Regions from separate parts of the Homo sapiens genome. Here all the other regions are linked to region 1. The links are contacts of gene promoters, found by promoter capture Hi-C in blood cells and fetal thymus (Javierre and others, 2016). All regions are on one chromosome and are shown on one strand. The core of a region is centred on a gene start or on the middle of the fragment in contact, and the rest is flanking DNA. Distances in the headings are between cores, read along the strand shown. Region 1 holds the start of TMEM60 (transmembrane protein 60). Region 2 overlaps FPASL (fibroblast proliferation associated lncRNA). Region 3 has its middle 11 kb from the start of HSPB1.

The links. The method cuts DNA at HindIII sites, captures the fragments that hold promoters and counts their contacts. A CHiCAGO score of 5 or more calls a contact.
Region 2: a fragment that was not itself captured here is called in contact with the fragment with the promoter of TMEM60 in region 1 in 1 of 17 cell types (neutrophils); the score reaches 5.1 in neutrophils.
Region 3: a fragment that was not itself captured here is called in contact with the fragment with the promoter of TMEM60 in region 1 in 1 of 17 cell types (neutrophils); the score reaches 5.1 in neutrophils.

Annotation. Positions count from the first base shown.
Region 1 is chr7:77,796,846-77,800,390 of GRCh38, reverse strand. It overlaps TMEM60 (transmembrane protein 60), which reads left to right and starts at 1,957. Exons shown (of 2, transcript NM_032936.4): 1 at 1,957-2,137. It overlaps PHTF2 (putative homeodomain transcription factor 2), which reads right to left and starts at 1,618. Exons shown (of 19, transcript NM_001395272.1): 1 at 1,420-1,618. RefSeq lists a silencer at 1,538-1,677 and an enhancer at 2,088-2,197. The HindIII fragment of the contact is 8,213 bases long and covers 1-3,113 here.
Region 2 is chr7:76,319,008-76,322,960 of GRCh38, reverse strand. FPASL (fibroblast proliferation associated lncRNA) reads right to left here. Exons shown (of 2, transcript NR_186616.1): 1 at 2,514-3,953; 2 at 675-1,242. Among named protein-coding and RNA genes, the nearest start is that of FPASL, 2.7 kb to the right of the region's middle. RefSeq lists an enhancer at 3,851-3,953. The HindIII fragment of the contact is 7,938 bases long and covers 1-3,953 here.
Region 3 is chr7:76,289,433-76,292,920 of GRCh38, reverse strand. No RefSeq gene overlaps it. Among named protein-coding and RNA genes, the nearest start is that of HSPB1, 11 kb to the left of the region's middle. RefSeq lists enhancers at 618-1,133, 1,200-1,509, 2,166-2,681 and a cis regulatory region at 757-1,525. The HindIII fragment of the contact is 3,173 bases long and covers 385-3,488 here.

The DNA.
Region 1 (3,545 bases), core at 708-3,207:
GTCTGTGTGGGAGGCAGGCTATTTCTGGGGCAAAAATATTTCCTGGAACCACTGTTTCTGGCCCCAGACATGGCTCATTCTCCGCAGACCTCCAGATTCCTCTCCTCTACGTTATGGAGGTGGAGCCACTACAACTGATAACGCATATCCATTTCCTTCTCTTAAAATTTGCAGTCCATACACCATATCCAAGTTAGGATTTCAAATTGTTATACTGTTTTGTGACTCTTTAGGCTAAAGTGTGCAGTTTCCAGACTTTCAGAATTCCCCTTCCAATATTAAAAATATGGTGAAAAAAGCCCAGTTTGAAAGAAAATAAACTTTACAAAAATACCTGAAAACAAGATCAAATACTAAGTCTCTTGCCAAAGTCTTGGAGAAAAAAAAAATGAAAGAAACGTTTAAAAATGGCAAAAGCTAACCAAAAACCTTAAGATTAAAGTATCACACCTGAAAAGTAGTCTCAAAGCAAGGAGGATATACTATTAACAAAGAAAGCAACCGAAAACTACAAAATATTTAATATTCACCATGAATTTCAAAATTACTTGGCATGTAAAGTACACACTGAGATTAATAAATTGTTCCAGATTCTGCACTGCCCAGGTTAGTATAAGGCAGTTCCTTGTTTTCGCCACGCTAAAAATAAGAAGGGTGACAGATTAGTGACAGAATGATCCCTGAAGTTACACAAGGAGGTGCTGAGTTAGAAAGCCATGACTCGAAGGACAATACCAGAATGCTGGCTGTCAACACTGGGCAGATAAAAATAAGAAAAGCTGAAGCATGCTGATGGAGCACGGTATTGTTTCCAGACGGGAACTATCCCTTAAGGCCCATGCCTTAAGCACCCACTCCGCCGTGTTGGGATCAGAAAACTCGACTGCCGCCTGCTCAGAGGGGGCAGGGCAGCGACCCTCCTTCCACCTCCTCCAGCGCGCGAGCCGCCGCCCCCTCCCGAGCCCGCTCCTCCGGCCGCTAGCTGACATCTCCCCGCCAGCCGGGCTAGCCACCCGAGACCCCTGAACGCCCTTCCAGGACCCGACGACCCCTCAGCACAGCGCCAAGGGAAGGAAGCAAAGGACAGGGGCCTGGAAGCGGGGCCCGAGGGGCGGGTGGCGCGCTGGGCTTCGGCCCGTCACCATCAAGACTTGAGGACCGCGCGAGCTCGGGAGGAAGGCGGCTGAGCCTCCGCCACCGGCCGACTGATGAGAAGGGGTCGCGGCTGACCCCGGCCCTCAGGTACGGGAGACTGCCGGGAAAGTCGCCGGCGACGGAGGGCGACGCGTTGGCCCCGGAGCCCCCACCTCCATCCCGACGACCGCTCTCCTCCCTCGTCCCGATCCATCCTCGAAATTCTGTCAGAACTCGACGACCTCCACACTGCCCACCCGAGCGCGGAGGTGATGCCGCTCTTACCGTAGGAGCGAGCGCCGCGCCGCTAGGAGGCGGCTGAGGTGCGCGCGGGAGACTCCGAAGCTAGCGCCGCCGCCAACAGAGCCCAAGGAGCCACAACGAGGCTGCCCGCGGGCGCGCTGCCTCCAGAGGGTTGCCCCACCCCCTCTCCCGCAGGATTTTGCGCCGGAGCCTGCAGTCACTGCGCGCGGGCAGGGAGGATGGGAGGAGGGGCGGGGCGTCCCGAGAGGGCGGAGCTGAGCGCCGGCTGCTCTGATTAACATCTGTGGGCCCAATGGGAGCACGGAAACTCCAGGCTGATCTTGGACTGACTTCCCTACTAACCCGTGACAGTAGAGAGGCGGGACCAATGGGTCTTTTTATTGCCGCCTTTCTGTCGAACCCGAAAGTAAGGAAAGGTCGGTTGGTTTGCACTGGCGGACAAATGGTCCAATTACCGCGGAAAAGGGACCTCTGAATCCAGATTGGCGTCCTCTCTACCTATAGGGTAGGCTCAGGGGCGGTGAGAACCAGCCCCGGATGTGGGCGCGGCACTGAGGTAGAACTGAGAGATCCTCTACCGCAGTCGTTTGAGGAGGCGGAACTGAAGTTTTTTCTTAATTATCATGTGACGGGTTCTGGATTTAATGGGGGGAAAAGGGCGGAAAAGGACAAGGATCCAAACTGGCGAATTTGCTGATCTTCGCGTCCCTCTCCGCTTTCCGGCCGGCAGCGCTGCCAGGTGAGTCTGGGGCTCTGCCCTAGCCCGCACCGTACGCCGGCGCTGGTCTCCTGATGCTTCCGTGGGCTGTGCGGCCGACCCTCAACCCATCACACAGCCAGCCCCAAACGCGCACACGCCTGCTTGGCTCCAGGGCTTCTGTGCGCATCCAGCAGGAACCGTGTTAAACTCCAGCATGTGCTGGGCTTACAGCCCATGAAAGGGGAGCGTCCCGGTGGGGCGCCGCGAGCCGACTGTCGGTGTTTGCAGAAGGGCAAGTATAGTTTAGGAGCGTCCTGAAGTTCCAGGGGCAAATAGGCCCCCAGATGAGCTAAGTTGTAAGCAGAACGCTGTTCCTTTGGCCAAGGCTGTTGCTGCACGGGCTTTTCAAAAGCGACTCATTATGAAGAAGAATAAATATGTGGGCTCATGAAGCAAAATTATCTTTGGGATGAGGCAGGTTCACTTGGTAGACTACTGGCAGTGGCGAGAGAAGGGAAATGGGGGCTGATACCCAGCCGTGGGCTATGTGGGTGGGGCTCTATATATGTCCATACAGGGGTAACTCCGAAGGTTTTAAAAATGAGTAAGGAATCATTAACAAATATTTAACTGTCTTCCTAGTGCCAGAAATAACCACCTTAAATGGGAAACATTTTAGTTGAGCACATTTTTGGAGTACGCACCTCCCCCTTTCTTGTGGAGAGAATAGTAGGAAACATAACGACTGCTCAAATTGATGAAGACGTAAATGTAAAACTGGGATCGTATGTCATCGTTGTAGCTCAGCATACAGGCGTACAATCCTTCAATCGTCATTTAAGTATCAGCAGTGCTTCCCCATTGAGGGTATTTCCGTGCAAGAACATAACAGAATTTTGTTGCATCCCACATTATAAATCTTGTAGGCACAATAAGATTGTTACTTGCATCCTTTCACCTCCAGCCCTAAAGCACCTGTGGTAAGTACAGCCAAATGTAAGAAAAAAATGAAGCTTGTCTTATCCGATAGCAGATGGAACAGTTAGGTTTAAGCAAGTGTATAATCATAAACCGTTTTTCAGAGGTTCACAAAAACGGCCTGATAGATTGGAGGTGGGGATTGTGCAATTTACGGGATGAAATCCATCCATGGTTATTAATCAACACACACCCCTCCAACCCTGCTTCCAAATTCAGTCCCACATCCCACTCTATGGCAGCCTCTGGCCGGGAAAGGAAACCAACACAGAAAAATGCCTCCTTAGAAGCAAAATTACTGCAGTATGAAGCCTTTGCCAATTAAGTAAACAAGTTTAAGTGCCACTAGATGGGTATAAGGGAAAAGAGGTGAGTTAGGAGACTAATACTTAACTGTTGAAATAGAACAGATGTGTCCTCTTGCACTGTGATAGCCACCCACTATTTAAAGTAGTAGAGATGTTGCACA
Region 2 (3,953 bases), core at 851-3,350, 1.5 Mb after region 1:
AAGCCTACTCAGAGAAACAACCTTCTGAGCACTAGCTGGGTAACCCTGTTCTAGGAGTTGACAATCAGTGGTCACCAGCCTAATCAGAACATTAACATGTGGCATACCAGCTTGCTAATTAGCCCACTGGTTTGAATTTTCCAACTCTGATGTGGATAAACGTGGTTGAATCTGAATGGCCACAAGCTGTACCTCTCATTAACCACACAGCGCTGTGGTCAGTGAGGAGTTAGGGTGAGAGTAGCTGGATCACACTGGCAAGACAATGAGTCAAGACATCTCAGGTTATGTAAGGGACTCACGTGGCACTCTGTTATCCTGTTATCCAGAGTATTGGAGAGGAAAGGCCGTAGGAATTTGAGGAACACTATGACTTGGGGCCTTTTTTTTTTTTTTTTGGAAAGACAGAATCTCACTCTTGCACAGGCTGGAATGCAGTGGCATGATCACAACTCACTGCAGCTTCTACCTCCTGGGCTCAAATGATCCTCCTATCTCAGCCTTCTGAGTCGCCGGGACCATAGGTGCGTACCACCACCACACACACCTGGCTAATTTTTGGATTGTTTGTAGAATTGAGGTCTTGCTATACTGCCCAGGCTGGTCTTGAACTCCTGGCCTCAGGCAATCCTCCCATCTCAGCCTCCCAAAGTGCTGGGATTACAGACATGAGCCACTGTGCCCAGCTGGTTTTTATTTTTTGAATTGGCAGTGCACACACGTTACAAAAGTGTGAGGCGGCCGTATACAGCCCACAATGCTTGACATATTTACCCTCTGGCCAGTAGTTTGCAGACCCCTGGTTTATCAGAAACTCTTCCCAGCATGCCCATTACCTGATCACCCATTAATTGCCATTCTTAGAGGTAACTACTGCCATCCATTCTTCTAATTTGGTTGAGCTTGAAATAGGATTTTTGCTGCCTTTGAGCACTGATGTGACTCTGGCCTTGTGATTTTAAATATAGATAGTTGAAATTTGGTGGTCCCAAAACAGATATCTTGAATTAGAATATTTAATTCCATTTAAAGGGTAGTTAGGTGGTATTGGGGCACTTGAATCCCAAACACAAAAATTGAAAAGAACGTTACAGTGATTGGCTACAGACCCACTCCTTGATATGGCAGATAAATTCCTCTATGGGTTGTGGAACCTTGAAAGTCACTGTTGGCATTTTACTCCCAATGTTCATATTTCTCCTTACAAAAAGGACATTCTCGGCCAGGCGCAGTGGCTCACGCCTGTAATCCCACCACTTTGGGAGGCCGAGGCGGGCGGATCACCTGAGGTCAGCAGTTCGAGACCAGCCTGGCCAACATGGCGAAACCCTGTCTCTGCTAAAAATACAAAAAAATTAACTGGGTGTGGTGGCTCGTGCCTGTAGTCCCAGCTACTTGGGAAGCTGAGACACAAGAATTGCTTAAACCCAGGAGGCAGAGGTTGCAGTGAGCTGACATCACGCCACTGCACTCCAACCTGGGCAACCGTGAGACCCTGTCTCAAAAAAAAAAAAAAAAAAGGACATTCTCTAATATAACCGCCATACTGTTATCACCCAATTAATAATTCCCTAATATCAGCCCATATGCAAATTTCTCCAAATTGTCCTCAGAATGCATTTGATAGCTTTTTCCAATCCCCCTCCCGCACCACCTAGACTCCAATTAAAATTCATTAATTGCATTTCAATATTAGATTTCTTTGCCTATTTTTTTTTTTTTTTAAGAGACAGGGTCTCAGTTGCCCTGGTTGGAGTGCTTTGGACAATCAGAGCTCACTGCAGCCTCCAACTCATGGACTCAAACAGTCCTCCCAACTCAGTCTCCCGAGTAGCTGGGACCACAGGGCTGCACTACCACTTCCGGCTAATTTTTTTCTTTTTTTTTTTTCAACATGGCCTTCCAATAAATCTATTTTTATTTTTTGTAAAGATGGGTATGTTGTCTAGGCTGTTCCTGAATTTCTGGCCTCAAGTGATCCTCTCACCTTGGCCTCCCAAAGTGTTAGAATTAATGGGCATGAGCCACCACGCCTGGGCCTGATAATGGCTTGAGACCAGGCTACTTGACAGTCTCAAGGCCCCACGTTCTGGGTTTGTCCAGTTGTCTGTGCCTATGTCATTTAGCTTGTTTCCTGCCCTTGTTGGGGTACTTTTTTTGTCTTAAGAACTTTGCTTTCTCCTCCATTTAACCTTCTCACTGGTTCACTCTGTGTTTTTTTTTTTTTGTTTTTTTTTTGAGATGGAGTCTCGCTGTGTCACCCAGGCTGGAGTGCAGTGGTGCGATCTTGGCTCTCGGCAAGCTCCGCCTCCTGGGTTCACACCATTCTCCTGCCTCAGCCTCCCAAGTAGCTGGGACTACAGGCACCCACCACCACGCTCGGCTAATTTTTTGTATTTTTAGTAGAGACGGGATTGCACCATGTTAGCCAGGATGGTCTCGATCTCCTGACCTTGTGATCCACCCACCTCGGCCTCCCAAAGTGCTGGGATTACAGGCGTGAGCCACCACGCCCGGCTACTCTGTGCTCTTAAGCAACTACCAGCAGCAGAGCCTGTTACCTAAGCGGACAAGGCCAAAGCCACTGCTCTGAAAGGCCAGAGGGATTGGCCACTACCCATGGGGACCATCTTGTTTTCTGACTGGAGTCTTCTGGGCTCGGGGATTTGCCTCCTCAATCCTCTCCTGCCTCCCCTGGATGGGAAAAGTACAGTATTAGGTGGTTTAATAAGCACTGGCTTTGACTCACATCCTCACTTGGCCCACTGGGTCCTGGTGGTCTGCAGCTGTTCTGCCCCTATGCCTGGGGGAGGTGGGGAGACAGCACAGCCCACCTTATTCACTAGAGTTAACTCAGGAACCAGAAGCATGCCTGAGACACTTCTTTCATACTGGATCTACACTAGGGGAATCACAATCTTGGTGTTAAATTAGTTCTTCCCACTGTGGTCGGCAAATTACCCTACCACTCATTGGCTTGTAGGAGCTGAGAAGATAAATGAAAGCCTTTTTTTTTTTTGAGACGGAGTCTCGCACTATTGCCCGGGGTTGGAGTGCAATGGCGTGATACCAGCTCACTGCAACCTCCGCCTCCTGGGTTCACGTTGATTCTCCTGCCTCAGCCTCCCGAGTAGCTGGGATTACAGGCATCCACCACCATGCCTGGCTAATTTTTTTGTATTTTTAGTAGAAACAGGGTTTCACTATGTTGGCCAGGCTGGTCTTGAACTCCTGACCTCGTGATCCGCCCGCCTTGGCCTCCCAAAGTGCTGGGATTACCAGGCATAAGCCACCGTGCCTGGCCACAAGAAAGCCTCTTTTTACTCACTTAACCTGAAGCCAGATTTTAGAGATGAGGTTTCATTGGTTGTCAGTTTTTTTGTTTTGTTTTGAGACAGGATCTCGCTCTGTTGACCAGGCTGGAGTGCAGTGGTGCAGTCATAGCTCACTGCAGCCTCCACCTGCTGGACTCAAAGCAATCCTGTTTCAGCGTCCCAAGTAGCTGGGCTATCTGGCCTGGCTAATTTTTAAATTCTTTTTGTAGAGACTGGGTTTTACTATACTATGTTGCCCAGGCTGGTCTTGAACGCCTGGGCTTAAGCGATCCTCCTGCCTCGGTCTCCCAAAGTGTTGGGATTACAGGTGTGAGCCACCATGCCCAGCTGGGTTATGTTCTTTAAAGCCAGATAGCAAACTCACTTTTTATTCCATTAGGTTTATCAAAGCAGACTGCCTTCCAAGAGACGGTATTTTTTAGTGTTAAGTTGACAAGGGGTTTTGCCTGCTAAGTTTGCCGAGTAAATCCTCGGACAAGGATTGTGGGTAGTGGGCAGACCAAGAGTGAGAAATATTCTCTTGCCCTAAATCAGGAGACTACATTAGAAACAGACAAGATAGACTCAGGAAATAAAGGCTAAAAGGTATGAAGGACAAGGCAGCTTGTAGCTGACTGC
Region 3 (3,488 bases), core at 722-3,221, 1.5 Mb after region 1:
CTACTAAAAATACAAAAATTAGGCCAGGCGCAGTGGCTCACGCCTGTAATCCCAGCACTTTGGGAGGCTGAGGTGGGCAGATCACCTGAGGTCAGGGGTTCGAGACCAGCCTGGCCAACATGGTGAAATCCCATCTCTACTAAAAATACAAAAATTAGCCAGGTGTGGTGGTGCACACCTGTAATCTCAGCTACTCAGGAGACTGAGGCAGGAGAGTCACTTTAACCCGGGAGGTGGAGGTTGCAGTGAGCCGAGATCGTGCCATTGCACTCCAGCCTGGCGACAAGAGTGAAACTCCATCTCAAAAGAAAAAAAAAAACCTACAAAAATTAGCCGGGCATGGTGGTGCAAACCCAAAGTCCCAGCTCTTAGGAGGCTGAAGCTTGAGAATTGCTTGAACCTGGGAGGTGGGGGTTGTAGTGAGCTGAGATTGCACCACTCACTGCACTCCAGCCCGGGTGACACAACGAGACTCTGTCTCAAAAAAAAAAAAAAAAAAGTTGGGGGTGGTGAGGGGATGGGGGACAGGCTGGGACAGCCAAGCTGGGCAGGTGCCCTGTGGCCTGTCACCCTGTCTGGGGCTGTAGGAAACTGATTAAGGAGAAAGGGGAAAATACAGTTGTGAAAACAGGAAACCGGAAAGCTCTGTCCGGCCTCCTGGCTGCTGTATGTGTTGGAAGGAAAAACGTGGTATGGAGTGGGGGCTCCCCTGGGCCCTATCTGAAGAGAGAGAGACCACGAGAGGACCAAGTTTACCCCAAACCAGAAGAGTGCGCCCCAGGCTCAGGACCCTCTGGCGAGAAGTGCCCACATCCTGGGGACGGTCTTCTGCCCGCTGCTCTGGGACTGGAGTTTCCTGTTTTCCTGCCGGCCGTCCTGGTCCTATTCTTCCCTTTCCCCAGGGTATAGAGCAGAGTTCAGTCGGCTGACTGAGTTCAGACGGGGTGGGGCGGGGGGGGGGCTGGTATGCTCCCCACCCCTTCCCCACGAAGCCAGGGCAGGCATGGAGGACGAAGGCTTGGGGCTTCCAGGCTGGGACGAGCCCTGGCCCAGGCATCTCTCTGCTCCAAGCCTGTTGGTCCTGGCTGCATTTTTTCCCTTACTCTCTGTCGCCCTCTAGTGTCGGCTTTCCGCCACCACGCCTCGCCTTTGGTGCCCAGGCCTCCCCCAAAGTTTCTGCAACCGTTCCTCTGCGGGTTCCTTCCTTCACTCGATGACTCATTCAACAAACATTTCAAAGTGGCCTACGTGGGCGATGCAGAGACAAGGAAGACATGTCCTGGCCTCCAGAAGCTCAGAGCTTTGGGGAGAGATAAACATGCTAGCAAATAAATCACTGGAAGAAGAGACTGGGCCCTAAACACAGGCTCCCAGAGAACCCCAGAGACAGGAGTAGTCACGGCAGCTGCACATCAGGAAGGCCGCATGGAGGAGGAGGTGGCTGAGCTGGGCCTTGGCCTGTGAGCTCACCTGAACCCGTGGAGGCAGAGAGGGCATGAGGGGCGCCAGCTGGGCTCGGGGTATTGGAATCAAGGGCAGCGATGGGAGATAAGGTGGGAGGGCGCCCTGGGAGGAGCCAAGGATGGCACGTGCCAGGTGGAGTCACTCAGAAGGCCTTCCAAGGCCTGTGAGCTGGTGGATGTGGCCTCAGGAGGCAGGTTCTGCATGGCAAGGAGTTCTGTCTCATTTATTCAGTACTGTGTCCTCAGAGCCAGCCACTCTGCAGGGGACATAGGAATTGTTCAATAAGTATTTGTGGAATGAGTGAATGGGTGTTCAGATCTGCATGTTAGAAATAATGGGAGTGGTCAGGCATGGTGGTTCATGCCTGGAATCCCAGTGCTTTGGGAGACTGAGGCAGGAGGATCGCTCTAGGCCAGGAGTGTGAGACCAGCCTGGGCAACATAGCGAGATCCCGTCTGTACAAAAAATAATGGCCGGGTGCAGTGGCTCATGCCTGTAATCCCAGCACTTTGGGAGGTCGAGGTGGGTGGATCACTTGAAGTCAGGAGTTTGAGACCAGCCTGGCCAACATGGTGAAACCTCATCTCTACTAAAAACACAAAAACTAGCTGGGTGTGGTGGTGCATGCCTATAATCCCAGCTACTCAGGAGGCTGAAGCAGGAGAATTGCTTGAACCCAGGAGGCGAAGGTTGCAGTGAGCCGAGATTGTGCCACTGCACTCCAGCCTGGGTGACAGAGCGAGACTCTGTCTCAAAACAAAAACAAGAAAACAAAAAAGCAAAAATTAACGGCGTAGTGGAGTGCACTCGTAGTCCCAGCTACTCAGGAGGCTGAGGCAGGAAGATCTCTTGAGACCAGGAGATCAAGGCTGCAGTGAGCCATAATGGTGCCACTGCACTCTAGCCTGAGCGACAGAGTGAGACCCTGTCGCAAAAAAAAAAAAAAAAAAAAAAAGGAAAGAAAAGAAAAAAGCAGGAGGGATTGGAGAAGGCAATGAGGCAGGCTGGCCAGTGAGGAGGCCGGTAGGGCCAGGTGCTGAGGTGGGGTGGGAAGGAAGCAATTGCAATGGCTGGGAGCAGCCTGGCTGTGGCGTGCAGAAGGCAGTCAGGCTGGGCAGTGACGGAATGGGATGGGAGGTTGGGGGACGGAGCAGCCAGACAGCAGAGTCCCTAGGCCCAGTGCCATGCTCAGTGTGAGACAGGCTGAGTTGCAGGACAACCTCAACTGTGCTGCCACTCAGATGTGCAGATGTGTTTCACGCATCTCTAGCACAGGGCCAAGTCTGCTTCCCCGTAGCCCAGCCCCTTGCCTTGAGGCGTTTTGTTGAACTTGTTAGAAAGGGTTACAGAGATCACGAGGGCTTCTTTTTGTTATCTTTTTTTCTTTCTTTCTTTGTGTGTGTGTGTGTGTGTGTGTGAGAGAGAGAGAGAGAGAGAGAGAGAGAGGAGAGAGAGAGAGACGGAGTTTCACTCTTATTGCCCAGGCTGGAATGCAATGGCAGGATCTCGGCTCACTGCAACCTCTGCCTTCCAGGTTCAGGTGATTCTCCTGCCTCAGCCTCCAGAGTGGCTGGGATTACAGGCGCCCACCACCACGCCTGTCTAATTTTTTGTATTTTTAGTAGAGACGGGGTTTCACCATGTTGGCCATTCTGGTCTCAAGTGAGCCACTTGCCTCGACCCCCCAAAGGCCTGGGATTACAGGCGTGAGCCACCGCACCTGGCCAATCACCAGGGCTTCTGTGAACAGCTTCCGTGGATAGGAAACAGAGCCACTGGTCAGGTGCCCCTTCTAGTTTTGGGGAAAAGAAGCTGGAATGGGGTCATGTCATGACACAGCCCCAGCTCTGGGGACTGGGCCAAGGACACCTATGTCATGGCCCACACAGAAGTGGGAGCAGGGGCCACCTCAGCCGCACCCTCATTGGAGGTGGACCAGGGTTCTTAACCGGTGGGACGCTAAAAGCCTTCAGAGTGAGTATGTGTGTGATAGATCCAGTGTTACAAGCCACACTGCAGGCATG